Linked DNA regions of Homo sapiens: region 1 is linked to region 2. Evidence: promoter capture Hi-C in human tissues and cell types (Jung and others, 2019). All regions are on one chromosome and are shown on one strand. The core of a region is centred on a gene start or on the middle of the fragment in contact, and the rest is flanking DNA. Distances in the headings are between cores, read along the strand shown.

Region 1 (7,036 bases), core at 837-3,336, 330 kb before region 2:
AGGAGCTACCAGAAGCTCAGAGAAAAGCCTGGAACAGACCCTTCTCTAGCACCTTCAGAGGGATTGTGGCTCTGCATGCACCATGATCTCAGACTTCCAGCCTCCAGACCTGGGGGACAATAAATTTCTGTTGTTGAAGCCTCTCAGTTTCTGGTACTTTGTAGAGCAGGCCTAGCAAACTACTGTAACATTGTTGCTTGGAAGATGCATTTGAATTATGAGATCTTAAAACATCAATTGTACAATCACTAGATAAGATTGTTTGATCTTTACAACAAATCTGCAAACCTACAAAACCTGACAAAACTAGCCCCATTTTACAGATGGAGAAATTGGGGCACCAAATGCCTTATGTAATCCTCATGTTATGCACTGGTGGAGCCAGGACTCAATGCAATTCTGGGTTCTTAAAAATTGTCCTGGCTGGGCGCAGTGGCTTATGCCTGTAATCCCAGCACTTTGGGAGGCTGATGCGGGCGGATCATGAGGTCAAGAGATCGAGACCATCCTGGCTAACACGGTGAAACCCTGTCTCTACTAAAAATACAAAAAATCAGCTGGGCATGGTGGCGGGCGCCTGTATTTCCAGCTACTCGGGAGGCTTAGGCAGGAGAATGGTGTGAACCTGGGAGGCAGAGCTTGCAGTGAGCTGAGATGGTGCCACTGCACTCCAGCCTGGGTGACAGAGCAAGACTTCGTCTCAAAAACAAAAAAAAGAAGTGTCCTGCACTGCCTCCCAGATGTCCCCATAACCACCCACACTTGCAGGTGCAAGCAAGCACGTACACACGCATGCACACACACACACATACACACACAGAGCTATTTAATTTTCAGGCCATTTAGAGTAACTAACAAAGTTTCATTTCCAAAGGGGAATGACCATCTATGCCCAAAGGAATTCTTCACTCTCTATTGCTCTTCTAACTTCTATTACCAAAAACAATTCGAACTGTGGCACTTTGGCCAGATTTCTGCCGGGTGGCTCAAGTTCTGCATCAAGTCGTGGAGATTCCTCAGCCTGCCCCTTGGTGCAGTCCTAACCATAACATATCAGATCAGCACAGAGAGCTCCTCAAGGACCCAGCGGAAACACTGACAGAGGCCACAGTTTGCTCCTTCTGCACAATAAATGGGACACAAAGTCCCCAGAAGACTAAGCCAGAATGTTTTTGAAGTTTCCCAGATGGTTTAGGGGACATCTGTGTCATGGTCTGGCAACCCCGCTAAATTCTGAGCGAGCCATTCACCCTTTCATCACGTCTCCAATGTTCTTTTAATTCTGAGAAGCATCTTGAGAAATGTGCATTTGTGACACCCCCGAGGGATATTTCACTGAGCAAGGAATGGAGAAAATGTAAAAACCAGTGATTCCAGGGTTTTCGTTGAAGAGCTCATGACCAAGTGCAATGACTCCTGTGAACAAGGCTGATCAGAAACTGGTGTTTGCCAGTCTACCAACAGGAAAGCAGGCTTGGATGTTTGTTCATGCAATATTCTTGGTGCCTAGTGCAGAGCCTAGTACATAGGAAGCACTCAATAAATCTTGCAGAATTAATGAGAAAGGAAAGCTTCCTCTGTCTGAAGTTTTCCAGCCCCCTTGCTGTGTCTGAAATTTTATCATTAAAAATTCATTCCTTTGGACTTAAATTAAAAGTCTGCTGGTAAAATGCACAACTTCTAAGAGGAGACAGACCTTCAGTACTGTGAATTTATTCTCTCAACCAGGACTGAAAGTCAGACCTTTTAGAATAAGTGCTTCTCAAAGTGGCCCAAGAGGAGGACTGGGATGATCCCCTGGGGTATAGGAGAAAAACATTCATCTCTTATTTATGTTTACTTTTTCTCATTATTCTTAAATTTCTACTTGTGTGTGCTTTACAATGAAATAATATATACTGATTTAAGACACATAGACTATTTGTAAGTGACACACAGCTGAGAGATTCTTCGTTGTTGTACTTTTTGGGTTTTTTGTTTTACAACTGAGGTACAGTCAAAAAATTAAAAATCACTGTATTTTGCAAATGGGAGCTTTCTTTGTTTTTGTTTGTTTGTTTATTTGTTTGTTTTTTGTGAGACAGAGTTTCACTCTGTCGCCCAGGCTGGAGTGCAATGGTGCTATCTCAGCTCACTGCAACCTCCGCCTCCTGGGTTCAAGCGATTCTCCTGCCTCAGCCTCCTGAGTAGCTGGGATTACAGGCATGTGCCACCATGCCCGGCTAATTTTTACATTTTTAGTAGAGACGGGGTTACACCATGTTGACCAGGCTGGTCTGGAACACCCGACCTCAGGTGATCTGCCCACTTCGGCCTCCCAAAGTGCTGGGATTACAGGCGTGAGCCACTGCACCTGGCTGAGCTTAATGTTTTTTAAAGCAGGGAGATGAAATGGTTAAAGTCCATACTACAACTTTCTATTCTCCTGAGTTTTAAACCCCCCCAAAAAACTCATTGCACATTTCCTCCAACTATCTGGTTGCTTCTTTTGCTATTTCATGTTAAGTTGAACTAGCCATAGATTTGTATGCTTTACGAATTTTGGTCAAATGCATGGCTACCTGGGGTATACTTTTAAGGGTAGCAGTCCAGTTCTAAGCGGCCAATCGCATTCATCTGCTCAAGGGTCAAGGGGGCTGACATTTTCCACATTTATGACTCTTTTGAGTTTCACACTGGAAAAAGGGTATTAAAAATAATGATTTAGAACATGCTGTGTGCCAATTGTGCATTGGCATCTGAAATATAAAAGAGAAAGTGAGGACATGGGGAAGAAGGGAGAGTTGAAGATTTCACTGTTCACTGGGGAACACAGGCATGTGAATATATGACTCTAAAATCCAGTATAATAGGTGCCTGATATGCAGTGGGTTTTTGGTAATTAGTGTTGATTAAATGAGGGGCTGAAAAAGGAGTTAAAGAGAAATAAGAAGTGTCTGGAGGCGCGAGAGGAACAAGTGCCTGGCTGGGTCTGATCAGGGCAGGGCGGACTCACAGAGTCACTGGCTTGTGGGTGGCAAGGTTCCAGGAATGACTTTGCCAGGCAGGGGGAAGAAGGTCATGGAGTTCCAGGTGTGAGATAAAGCACCAAACTTAAGAAGTCGAGTTTGCCCCCTTTTGTTTGTGAGCAGAATTTCACAAAAACCCTGACTCTGTGATGACATGCAGCTCTCCAGAAAAATGCTCTCAACATTGAACAGGCTATAGCACGCGGCCTCCTGCATCTCTTGCCTGAGTCATTGTATTCCTTAAAAGATGAATGATGAGAGGCTGAAGTGAAGTTACAAAGGTTACACACTGCCCTCTCCCTCCCCCTCCCCCTCCCCCTCCCCCTCTCCCTCTCCCCACGGTCTCCCTCTCCCTCTCTTTCCACGGTCTCCCTCTGATACCGAGCCGAAGCTGGACTGTACTGCTGCCATCTCGGCTCACTGCAACCTCCCTGCCTGATTCTCTTGCCTCAGCTTGCCGAGTGCCTGCGATTGCAGGCAGGCGCCGCCACGCCTGACTGGTTTTCGTATTTTTTTGGTGGAGACGGGGTTTCGCTGTGTTGGCCGGGCTGGTCTCCAGCTCCTAACCGCGAGTGATCCGCCAGCCTCGGCCTCCCGAGGTGCCGGGATTGCAGACGGAGTCTGGTTCACTCAGTGCTCAATGGTGCCCAGGCTGGAGTGCAGTGGCGTGATCTCGGCTCGCTACAACCTCCACCTCCCAGCCGCCTGCCTTGGCCTCCCAAAGTGCCGAGATTGCAGCCTCTGCCCGGCCGCCACCCCGTCTGGGAAGTGAGAAGCGTCTCTGCCTGGCCGCCCATCATCTGGGACGTGAGGAGCCCCTCTGCCTGGCTGCCCAGTCTGGAAAGTGAGGAGCGTCTCTGCCCGGCCGCCATCCCATCTAGGAAGTGAGGAGCACCTCTTCCCGGCCACCATCCCATCTAGGAAGTGAGGAGCGCCTCTTCCCGGCCGCCATCCCATCTGGGAAGTGAGGAGCGTCTCTGCCTGGCCGCCATCCCATCTAGGAAGTGAGGAGCACCTCTTCCCGGCCACCATCCCATCTAGGAAGTGAGGAGCGCCTCTTCCCGGCCGCCATCCCATCTGGGAAGTGAGGAGCGTCTCTGCCCGGCCGCCATCCCATCTAGGAAGTGAGGAGCACCTCTTCCCGGCCACCATCCCATCTAGGAAGTGAGGAGCGCCTCTTCCCGGCCGCCATCCCATCTGGGAAGTGAGGAGCGTCTCTGCCCCGCCGCCCATCGTCTGAGATGTGGGGAGCGCCTCTGCCCGGCCGCGACCCCGTCTGGGAGGTGAGGAGCGTCTCTGCCCGGCCGCCCCGTCTGAGAAGTGAGGAGCCCCTCCACCCGGAAGCCGCCCCGTCTGAGAAGTGAGGAACGTCACCACCCGGCAGCCACCCCGTCCAGGAAGGAGGTGGGGGTCACCCACCGCCAGGCCAGCCGCCCCGTCCAGGAGGGAGGTGCGGGGGTCAGCTCCCCACCCGGCCAGCCGCCCCGTCCGGGAGGGAGGTGGGGGGGTCAGCCCCCCGCCCGGCCAGCCGCCCCCTCTGGGAGGTGGGGGGCGCCTCTGCCCGGCCGCCCCTACTGGGAAGTGAGGAGCCCCTCTGCCCGGCCAGCCGCCCCGTCCGGGAGGGAGGTGGGGGGGTCAGCCCTCTACCCTGCCAGCCGCCCCATCCGGGAGGGAGGTGGGGGTGTCAGCCCCCTGCCCGGCCAGCCGCCCCGTCCGGGAGGTGAGGGGCGCCTCTGCCCGGCCACCCCTACTGGGAAGTGAGGAGCCCCTCTGCCCGGCCAGCCGCCCCGTCTGGGAGGTGGGGGTGCCTCTGCCCGGCCGCCCCTACTGGGAGGTGAGGAGCCCCTCTGCCCGGCCAGCCGCCCCGTCCGGGAGGGAGGTGGGGGGGTCAGCCCCCTGCCCGGCCAGCCGCCCCGTCCGGGAGGTGAGGGGCGCCTCTGCCCGGCCACCCCTACTGGGAAGTGAGGAGCTCCTCTGCCCGGCCACCACCCCGTCTGGGAGGTGTGCCCGGCAGCTCAATGAGAACGGGCCATGATGACAATGGCGGTTTTGTGGAGTAGAAAGTGGGGAGAGGTGGGGAAAAGAGTGAGAAATCGGATGGTTGCCGTGTTTGTGTAGTAGGAGGTAGACATGGGAGACTTTTCATTTTGTTCTGTACTAAGAAAAATTCTTCTGCCTTGGGATCCTGTTGATCTGTGACCTTACCCCCAACCCTGTGCTCTCTGAAACATGTGCTGTGTCCACTCAGGGTTAAATGGATTAAGGGCGGTGCAAGATGTGCTTTGTTAAACAGATGCTTGAAGGCAGCATGCTCGTTGAGAGTCATCACCACTCCCTAATCTCAAGTACCCAGGGACACAAACACTGCGGAAGGCCGCAGGGTCCTCTGCCTAGGAAAACCAGAGACCTTTGTTCACTTGTTTATCTGCTGACCTTCCCTCCACTATTGTCCTGTGACCCTGCCAAATCCCCCTCTGTGAGAAACACCCAAGAATGATCAATAAAAAATAAATTAATTTAAAAAAAAAAAAAGATGAATGATGGTAATCCTTGCCTTGCCCTATAGGTAAGATAACGTCTGGCTTGGGGGCGGGGTGTTGTGATTATGCCTCTGCAATCTGTCATCAGATGCACTCTCACACCCAAACTTTGATGTGATTTTGAACGCCCTGAATCTTCACCACCTGTATATAAACTGTGAATGGGAATACTGCATTGCAGAAGCAACTCTGACAGCGCTGTTCCCAGCCTATAGGCCTCTGTCTATAGCCCTCAGCAAGATTTCTGAATAGAACTAACTTTAATTCATTAAGGTGGCCAGGCAAGGTGTCTCATGCCTGTAATCCCAGCACTTTGGGAGGCCGAGGCGGGCAGATCACTTGAGGTCAGGAGTTTGAGACCAGTCTGGCCAATATGGCAAAACCTCGTTTCTCCAACAAAAAAAAAAAAGATACAAAAATTAGCTGGGCATGGTGGTGCACGCCTGTAGACCCAGCTACTCAGGAGGCTGGGCAGGAGAATCACTTGAACCCGGGAGGTGGAGGCTGCGGTGCGTCGAGATGGCACCACTACACTCCAGCCTGGGCAACGGAGCAAGACTCCATCTCAAGAAAAAAAAAAATTAAGAGGCTCAATTCTTTTTTCTTTAGTCAACATAGGCAAAGGAACACTTTGATGAGACGGGAGATACAGTGGGAGCCATCAGCCTCACTTTCTTACTCTAGTCACCAAGTGGTGCTCATCCAAAGGGGAGGAAATGGGGGATGCGGCCACTCAGGTTGCACTGCTGAGGAGTGTTGGAGCTGGGATGCTGCCTGACTCAAGAGAGAGATGGAGCCACAGACACATGGAGGCAAACTGAAGAAAGACAGATAAAGGAGGCAGCTTTTCAGGAATGCGACCCCGGGGTTGGGGAAGGTGGAGAAGAAGGGAGGGAAAACTTGAGGCCTTGCACTCAGCTTTGACAACAACCTCATTCAACCACTAGATGTCACCAAACACAAAACCCGTTAGAAACGGAGAAATGAAGCCAAGGAATCTTGATCCCAAAGAATTCCTGGACTCAGCCCTGGAAAAGTCTTAAAGCTAAGGAATGTGGCATGCAGATCACTCTAGGTAAAGCAGGACTGACTTTTATAACTGTCACCAAAGGAGACGCCACATCTCTGGTGTCCTGGCGCCTGCATCTCAAACACACAGCATCTTAGTTAATTCTCAGAACATGCCCGGCAGGGCAGGACCACCACTATCCCCATTTCACAGGTGGGAGCACTGAGGGCCCAAGAGGTTGTTACCTCCTCAAGTCCACACAGCTAGGAAGGGGCTGAACTAGGATTGCAGCCAGGACTCTCTGACTTTCCACCTGGGCTCTTTCATCTATACCATGACATCTATCCCAGGGACATGACCCGCTACCACCATTACAGAAACACCACAGCCACAGGTTCCAAGGCAGACCAGGGCATTTCTTTAGTTCATTAAACTCCATTATTCTAATATAATTACTCCTTGATTTTACAGCAGCAAAT
Region 2 (6,540 bases), core at 1-2,500:
CCGCGTTTCTCTTCCGACGCGGGTAGGGCGTGCTTGTCCCATTCCCAGGAACCCAACTCATCTGAAACAACAGGGCACAACCGCCGGCCTCGGGTTGCTCAGCCGCCACCCCAGAAATCCCCGTTGGAGGTACCTCCTCTGAGCCACTGCAAATGAGCGGGAATCCTCTACCGGCCACAAGCCCAGAGCCCCCAGCGTGCCAGTTCCTCGGGATGTTCAGCGGCTTCCACTGGGGGAGAAGGGAGGGTCAAAATCAGCAACGTTCCTCCGGGAGTGGGAATCTAAAACCAAATCACCTCCCCGAGGGAATCTCCAAACTACCTACTCGCCCCAGGCTCCGACCCTCAGCATATCCACCTGCCGCGGGACCCCCAAACCAGCCCCTCTCCTAGTAAACATTAATTCAAGTACTTCCTCCGGAAATCCCCAAATAGCCACTTGCCTGGGAAACCCCAGCTCTGGTCCTTCCCCGTCTAACCCCCTTTTCTAAGACGGTCGGCCGTCACTCCCTGAACTTCCACAGCACCTGCTTCGGTGGAAACCCGGTTCTGCAGTCCCTGCTGGGGGAACCCCTGCCTCAAAGCCCAAGATGCCCAAGCGCTGTTCCCAGACCCTGGCATAGACACCTCCCGCGGGGCTCCTCCCCAGCCCGGCAGCCTCGAAAGTTCTGGAACCCCTGACTTGCGCTTTGGACCCAGATAATCAAGGACTCTGAGTCTCAATCCCGAGAAGTCACTTTACAATCTCTCGGAACACCCCGAGCTCCTCCAGGAACAAGGAGTGCGAGGCACCCCACCACCTCCACTCGGGTCCCGATGGCTCCACCGGCCCTAGCCATCCCGTCCACCCCTGCTTAGCACCCAGCTACCTGCACCGAGTCCGCAGGCGAACCTAAAGTTGACTCCCCCCGGGGAAGTTGCACGGCGACTGACGGCCCCAGTGACGCGTGCGCTCCCGGCCCGAGTTGGGATGGCCTGCCGGCTGCACCTAATGTGATGCTAAGCTGAGGTCTCTCACTGGAGCCTCGGTTGGAATCCCCTCGCCGCAGCCTGGCTGGTCGCTGGATGGGTACAGGAGGCGAGCGAGGAGCGCCTCCCAGGCTGCGCGCGCGGACAGCGTCTGGATGCGGCGCTGTGCGCTGGGGCTGAGGCTGCACTATCGCACGGGTCCGCTAGGGGGCGGGCGAGGCCAGCCGCGCAGACCCCTCCGGAGCGGAGCTGGTTCGCCCAGCGTTGGTCCCAGAGCCTTAACAAATGGGTTTATTTTGCAGTGGTTTAAAACTGCGAGAGGGAGGGAACTCGTCAATAACCCGCCCGTTTCTTCCTTTCTTGGTTTAGAAGCTCTTGACTCCGAGACACATAGGAGGCTTGAATAATAATGTTCTTCCCCGGGTAGATAGTGATGAAGTTACAAAAGCATTTAAACTGATTATTTCCCAAAAATGATGTTAATTTTCAGGCTTTTCTCTCCCCCCACACCTCCAGCTTGATGTAGCGGCTTTAGCAGTGAACTCAAATAAGTCTTTGCTTTGGAATACTTTTGTTCCTATTCCCGTTAATGAGGAATTAGAAATGGCCTCTATTCTAAGCAGTGCTGGGAGAGGCGTTATTTTTTCGGTAGTTTTAGAGGAAATTCTGAAGCACAACACTGTCTTCATTTAAAGTGATTCTGCTTGTCTGCGCCCAAGAGCCGTTTCTGCCTCCTTGTCGCGCTTCGGAATTAAAATTCTAAATGATGCCAAAGGAAGATAAAATGTTAAAGACAGCTTCTCAGCCTCCCTGCCCCTTCTCTATTCTAAAATCATTTTTTGAAGTAATTTACAGTGGCCAAGAATTAAGTCAGAAAAAAAGGCCAGGATTCAAAAATAAACAGGGCTCTTTAAAATGCATTAAATGTGTATTTCCTCCTGACATTTCACTTCTCCGTCTTTTTATTATGTGGAGAGACTTGAGTTAGCCAAGGACTGGGTTTCCTTAATCCACAATTACAGCCCCATGCCGAGATATCCCAGGGGCCAACCTTACAGCACCTGGATCCCAGGGTTCTAGCTGAGTAATCATTCCAGAATGGGGCTGGGAATCTTGACAGCATTGCCAAGGGGTGGCAGGCAGTATTAATCAATATTAGTCAATAGTACCTATCGGCCTCGAAAATTACAGATTAAAGTTACAGACGACTCAGGTGAGAATGAAGTGACCTTGGGCAAGCCCCTTCTCTTTGGGCCTCAGTCTCCTCATATGTAAAATGAGAGCACTGGTCAAGATAGCTAATGTCTGAGGTCCTGTCCCTCTGGTTTTCTGAAACTGTATAATCTGTGCAATCTGAGGGTTCAATCCTAGCAGGTAAAACACCCCTGCCTCACTCCACGGCTGGATGAAGGCAGATTTTTCCCTATGAGCCCCTGACCGGTGAATGTGAGAAGGAAAACACTGGCCTGTAGAACCAAGCCTGCCCTTCTTTCTCCTGGAAGACAGCTGCTTTCTAGGGAGCAAGTTTACTGAGCCACTTCACCAAGGACAGACTCTTCTACCCTTTGTAGGGAAGCCTGCCTACCTGTGTGGTCCTCGCGTAGCCCGTGAGACAGCCTAATTCTGGATTCACCTAACAGGGCTATTTAGTCTCATGCAAAAGGTAAATTCTCTAACTTAGTTTTAATCTAAACAACAACAATAACAACAACAGTAATAGTGTGATCCCCATTTCCTGTCTTTTGTTTTATTTCTCATTGTGTGCAGAAACCAGGCAGGAAATAGAGAGGTCCCCTTGAAAACTCCTAACAATGAATAAGACATGCTCCTTCACCTTTGAGCTTCGGCCAGGGAGAAAAACACATATTAGATTGGTGCAAAAGTAATTGTGGTTTTTGCTATTAAAAATAATGGCAAAAACTGCAATTACTTTTGCATCAACCTAATATTTGCAGTGTGACAACAATAAATGATGTTACAGAAGTGAGGACTGCTGGGGGCTGAGGTAATACTTGGGAGATCGTTTTACAAAGAGGTAGCTGGATTTCAGAGCTCCAGAATGAGTTCTCCAGGAAGCAAAGAAAAAAGGCATACTTCTCAGAGAGTGGTGCAGGGGAATCACTTTGGCGTTTTGGAGGAAGGACTAAAGATGAATTGCTTGGTGCCTAGCACATTGCCAGCACTTAATACATACAGTTGGCCCTCTATATCCCTGTATCTGTGAGTTCAGTGGATTCAAACAATCATGGATTGAAAATATTCAGGAAAAAAAATCCTCAAAGTTCCAAAAAGCAAAAATTGAATTTGTCATGTGCCACCTACAACACTGAATGCACACAAATGCAGTGACGAGTGACATTGCATTAGGTGTTACAAGTAATCTTGAGATGACTTAAAGTATGTGAGAGGATATGCACGTGTTATATGCAAATACTGCTTCATTTTATATCAGGGATTTGTGTACCTTGAAGGCTCCCGGAACCAATCCCCCATGGATACCAAGAGATAACTGTACTTATTGATGCTAAAGGAACTTCAAGGCCATGTAAAGGAGAATGGGTTTTATTCTGTAACCCAACATTCCCCAAAATATGGGATGGAATACTTTCTGATAGTGTTAAATGTGAATTTAATATTGAGTGATACTGAATAACAGGGAGGAAATTCAGTTCTCAGTTCTGCTTACTTTTGACGTCAGCAAAGAGAAAGTCTGATATAACAAAAATCATGAAGGTGCTAGTGTAAAGATGACTGAGGTTAGAAGGCATTGGTGGGGAAGGTGGGGTGCCTGGAAGGACTGCAAGCAAAACAACGTACTCAAATCTGTGCTTGGTGAGAGAATGCTGGTAGCCACAGGGAAGATGGGAAAGGAGATACTGGCATTATGAAGGCCTTGGAGATCCAGGCAAGAGATGCTGTAGGCATGGACAAAAGATGTGACATTACAGGGTGTCTTTCGGTCTTCCAAAGAAACAGAACCATTGGGATGTATATATGTAGAGAAAGAGATTCATTTAAGGAATTGGTTCATGTGTTATGGAGGCTGGCAAGTCCAAAATCTTCAGAGTGAGCTGACAGGCTGGAGACCCAGGGAAGAGCTGATTTTGCAGGTCAAGTCCAAAGGTCCTCTGCTGCGGAATTCCTTCTTGCTCAGGGAGGTCAGTCTTTTGTTCCATATAGACCTTCAACTGATTGGATAAGCCCACCAACGTTATGGTGGGTGATCTACTTTGTTCCAGATGTTAATCTCATCCAAAAATACCCTCACAGAAACATCCCGAATAATATTTGACCAAATATCTGGGCACCATGGCCCAGCCAAGCTGACACACAAAATGAACCATCACAGACAGAGATTCAGCAATCCCTGATTTACAAATGTCTTCATCTGTCTGAGTATCCGGGCATCTTTTTTTTTTTTTTATTTTAAGTTCTGGAGTTCATGTGCAGTATGTGCAGGTTTGTTACATAGGTAAATGTGTGCCATGGTGGTTTGCTGCACCTATCAACCCATCACCTAGGTATTAAGCTTAGCACATATTAGCTATTTTTCCTGATGCTCTCCCTCCCTCTGCCCCCGTGACAGGCCCCAGTGTGTATTGTTCCCCTCCCTGTGTCTGTGTTCTCATCATTCAGCTCCCACTTATAAGTCAGAACATGTGGTGTTTGGTTTTCTGTTCCTGTATTAGTTTGCTGAGGTTAATGGCTTCCAGCTCCATCCATCCTGCAAAGGACATGATCTTGTTCCTTTTTATGGCTGCATAGTATTCCATGGCATATATATCTATATATATCTATATATATATATATCTATATATATCTATATATATATAATCTATATATATCTATATATATATAATCTATATATATCTATATATATATAATCTATATATATCTATATCTATATAATCTATATATATCTATATAATCTATATATATATAATCTATATATATCTATATCTATATAATCTATATATATCTATATATAGATTATATAGATATAGATATATATATATATATCTCACATTTTTTTCTTTATCCAGTCTATCATTGATGGGCATTTGGGTTGATTTCATGTCTTTGCTATAGTGAATAGTGCTGCAGTGAACATACATGTGCAGGTATCTTTACAATAGAATGATTTATATTCCTTTGGGTATATACCCAGTAATGAGATTGCTGGGTAAAATGGTCTTTCTGGTTCTAGGTCTTTGAGGAATTGCCACTCCATCTTCCACAATGGTTGAACTAATTTGCATTACCACCAATAGTGTAAAAACATTCCTATTTCTCCAGATCCTTTACAGCATCAGTTGTTTCTTGACTTCTTAATAATCACCATTCTGACTGGCATGAGATGGTATCTTATTGTGGTTTTTATTTGCATTTCTCTAATGATCAGTGATGTTGACCTTTCTTTCATACGTTTGTTGGCCACATAAATGTCTTCTTTTGAGAAGTGTCTGTTCACGTCCTTTGCCCACTTTTTAATGGGGTTGTTTTTTTCTTGTATCCAAGCATCTTAAAGGTGGGGCCAATATTGTCTATACCTGTACTTCGAAAGGCCTAGGTCACTATAGAATAGGCACCTTTCAGGTATTTGTTAAATACAGAAGGATAAAAGGAAGGGGGAAAGGAGGGAAGAAATAAACATCTCCATGGGCAGAACCAGGCCCTCTGGGGAAGGTATCCTGCCCAGAGAATGACCTGTCCTGTACCCACTTCTGCCTCTGGGAACTGGGTCTGAGTTTTAGCATCTTGGGAATTTTCCAGCCCTGGCACATTTATTTCAACATGGATCCAAGCCCAAGCGGCCTTTGCTCTATTGTCAGAGTGGAAATGAGCTATAAACACATCCAACCTACCCCCTCCCTAACATCACCGCCTCCCCAGCCTGCCCCCAAATAACTTCTCAGCCTCTGCTTGGGCTCCTAGCTCCAGGAGGGGGGTCAGTGACATGCTCTCAGGCATAAAGGCTGAGAACACATTGTAGCAATCAGCCTGCTGCTGGCACACTTGATCTTCTTACATTTATAGCTCTGTGCGGATGCAGGCACATCAGGGCACATGGGCTGACCTGGGAAGTTCCTGAGGCCGTGCCAGGATGCTGTGTCAGGAGGCCACTGCTTATAGGTAGAACTTGCACGGATTCCTTCTAGCCTGTGTGATTTTGGACTTCCCAGCCTTTGTTTTCATTCCTGTGTTCCATGCAGGGTGGAGAAAGAGAGAAAAATGTGCTTTCCTATTGGAGAGAGCTCTGAATCTGCAGCAGTAAGTGCTTGCTAGCATCTGGATTTTACCACGTTTTGTCAGCGTGGCTAAGGTACTGAACTTCTCTGAGACTTGGTTTCCCCAGGTGCTGATCACATGAGGCTGTGTGTATAAACCAAACTTAATGCACATGAAGAGTGCTTCACAAACAGCAGAGAACTATACAATCAAATCTTTATTCCCATGCTGACAATCCTGACCCCAGGACCACTCCATGAAAATAGTGTCTGATCCAATCAACCTCCATCTTATTAGTCTTTCTGGATGGAGTTCATAATATTTTCAATTTAATCAGACAAAC

The links. The method cuts DNA at HindIII sites, captures the fragments that hold promoters and counts their contacts. A contact is called where the count stands out against the background at its distance.
Region 1: a fragment that was not itself captured here is called in contact with the fragment with the promoter of OXTR in region 2 in 1 of the 25 tissues and cell types used here (stomach).

Annotation. Positions count from the first base shown.
Region 1 is chr3:8,435,710-8,442,745 of GRCh38, forward strand. The region is part of intron 3 of LMCD1-AS1 (LMCD1 antisense RNA 1); the gene reads right to left. Among named protein-coding and RNA genes, the nearest start is that of LMCD1-AS1, 62 kb to the right of the region's middle. RefSeq lists an enhancer at 5,078-5,595. The HindIII fragment of the contact is 5,752 bases long and covers 1-4,962 here.
Region 2 is chr3:8,768,363-8,774,902 of GRCh38, forward strand. It overlaps OXTR (oxytocin receptor), which reads right to left and starts at 1,251. Exons shown (of 4, transcript NM_000916.4): 1 at 869-1,251; 2 at 134-229. RefSeq lists enhancers at 47-718, 1,366-1,415. The HindIII fragment of the contact is 11,538 bases long and covers 1-6,540 here.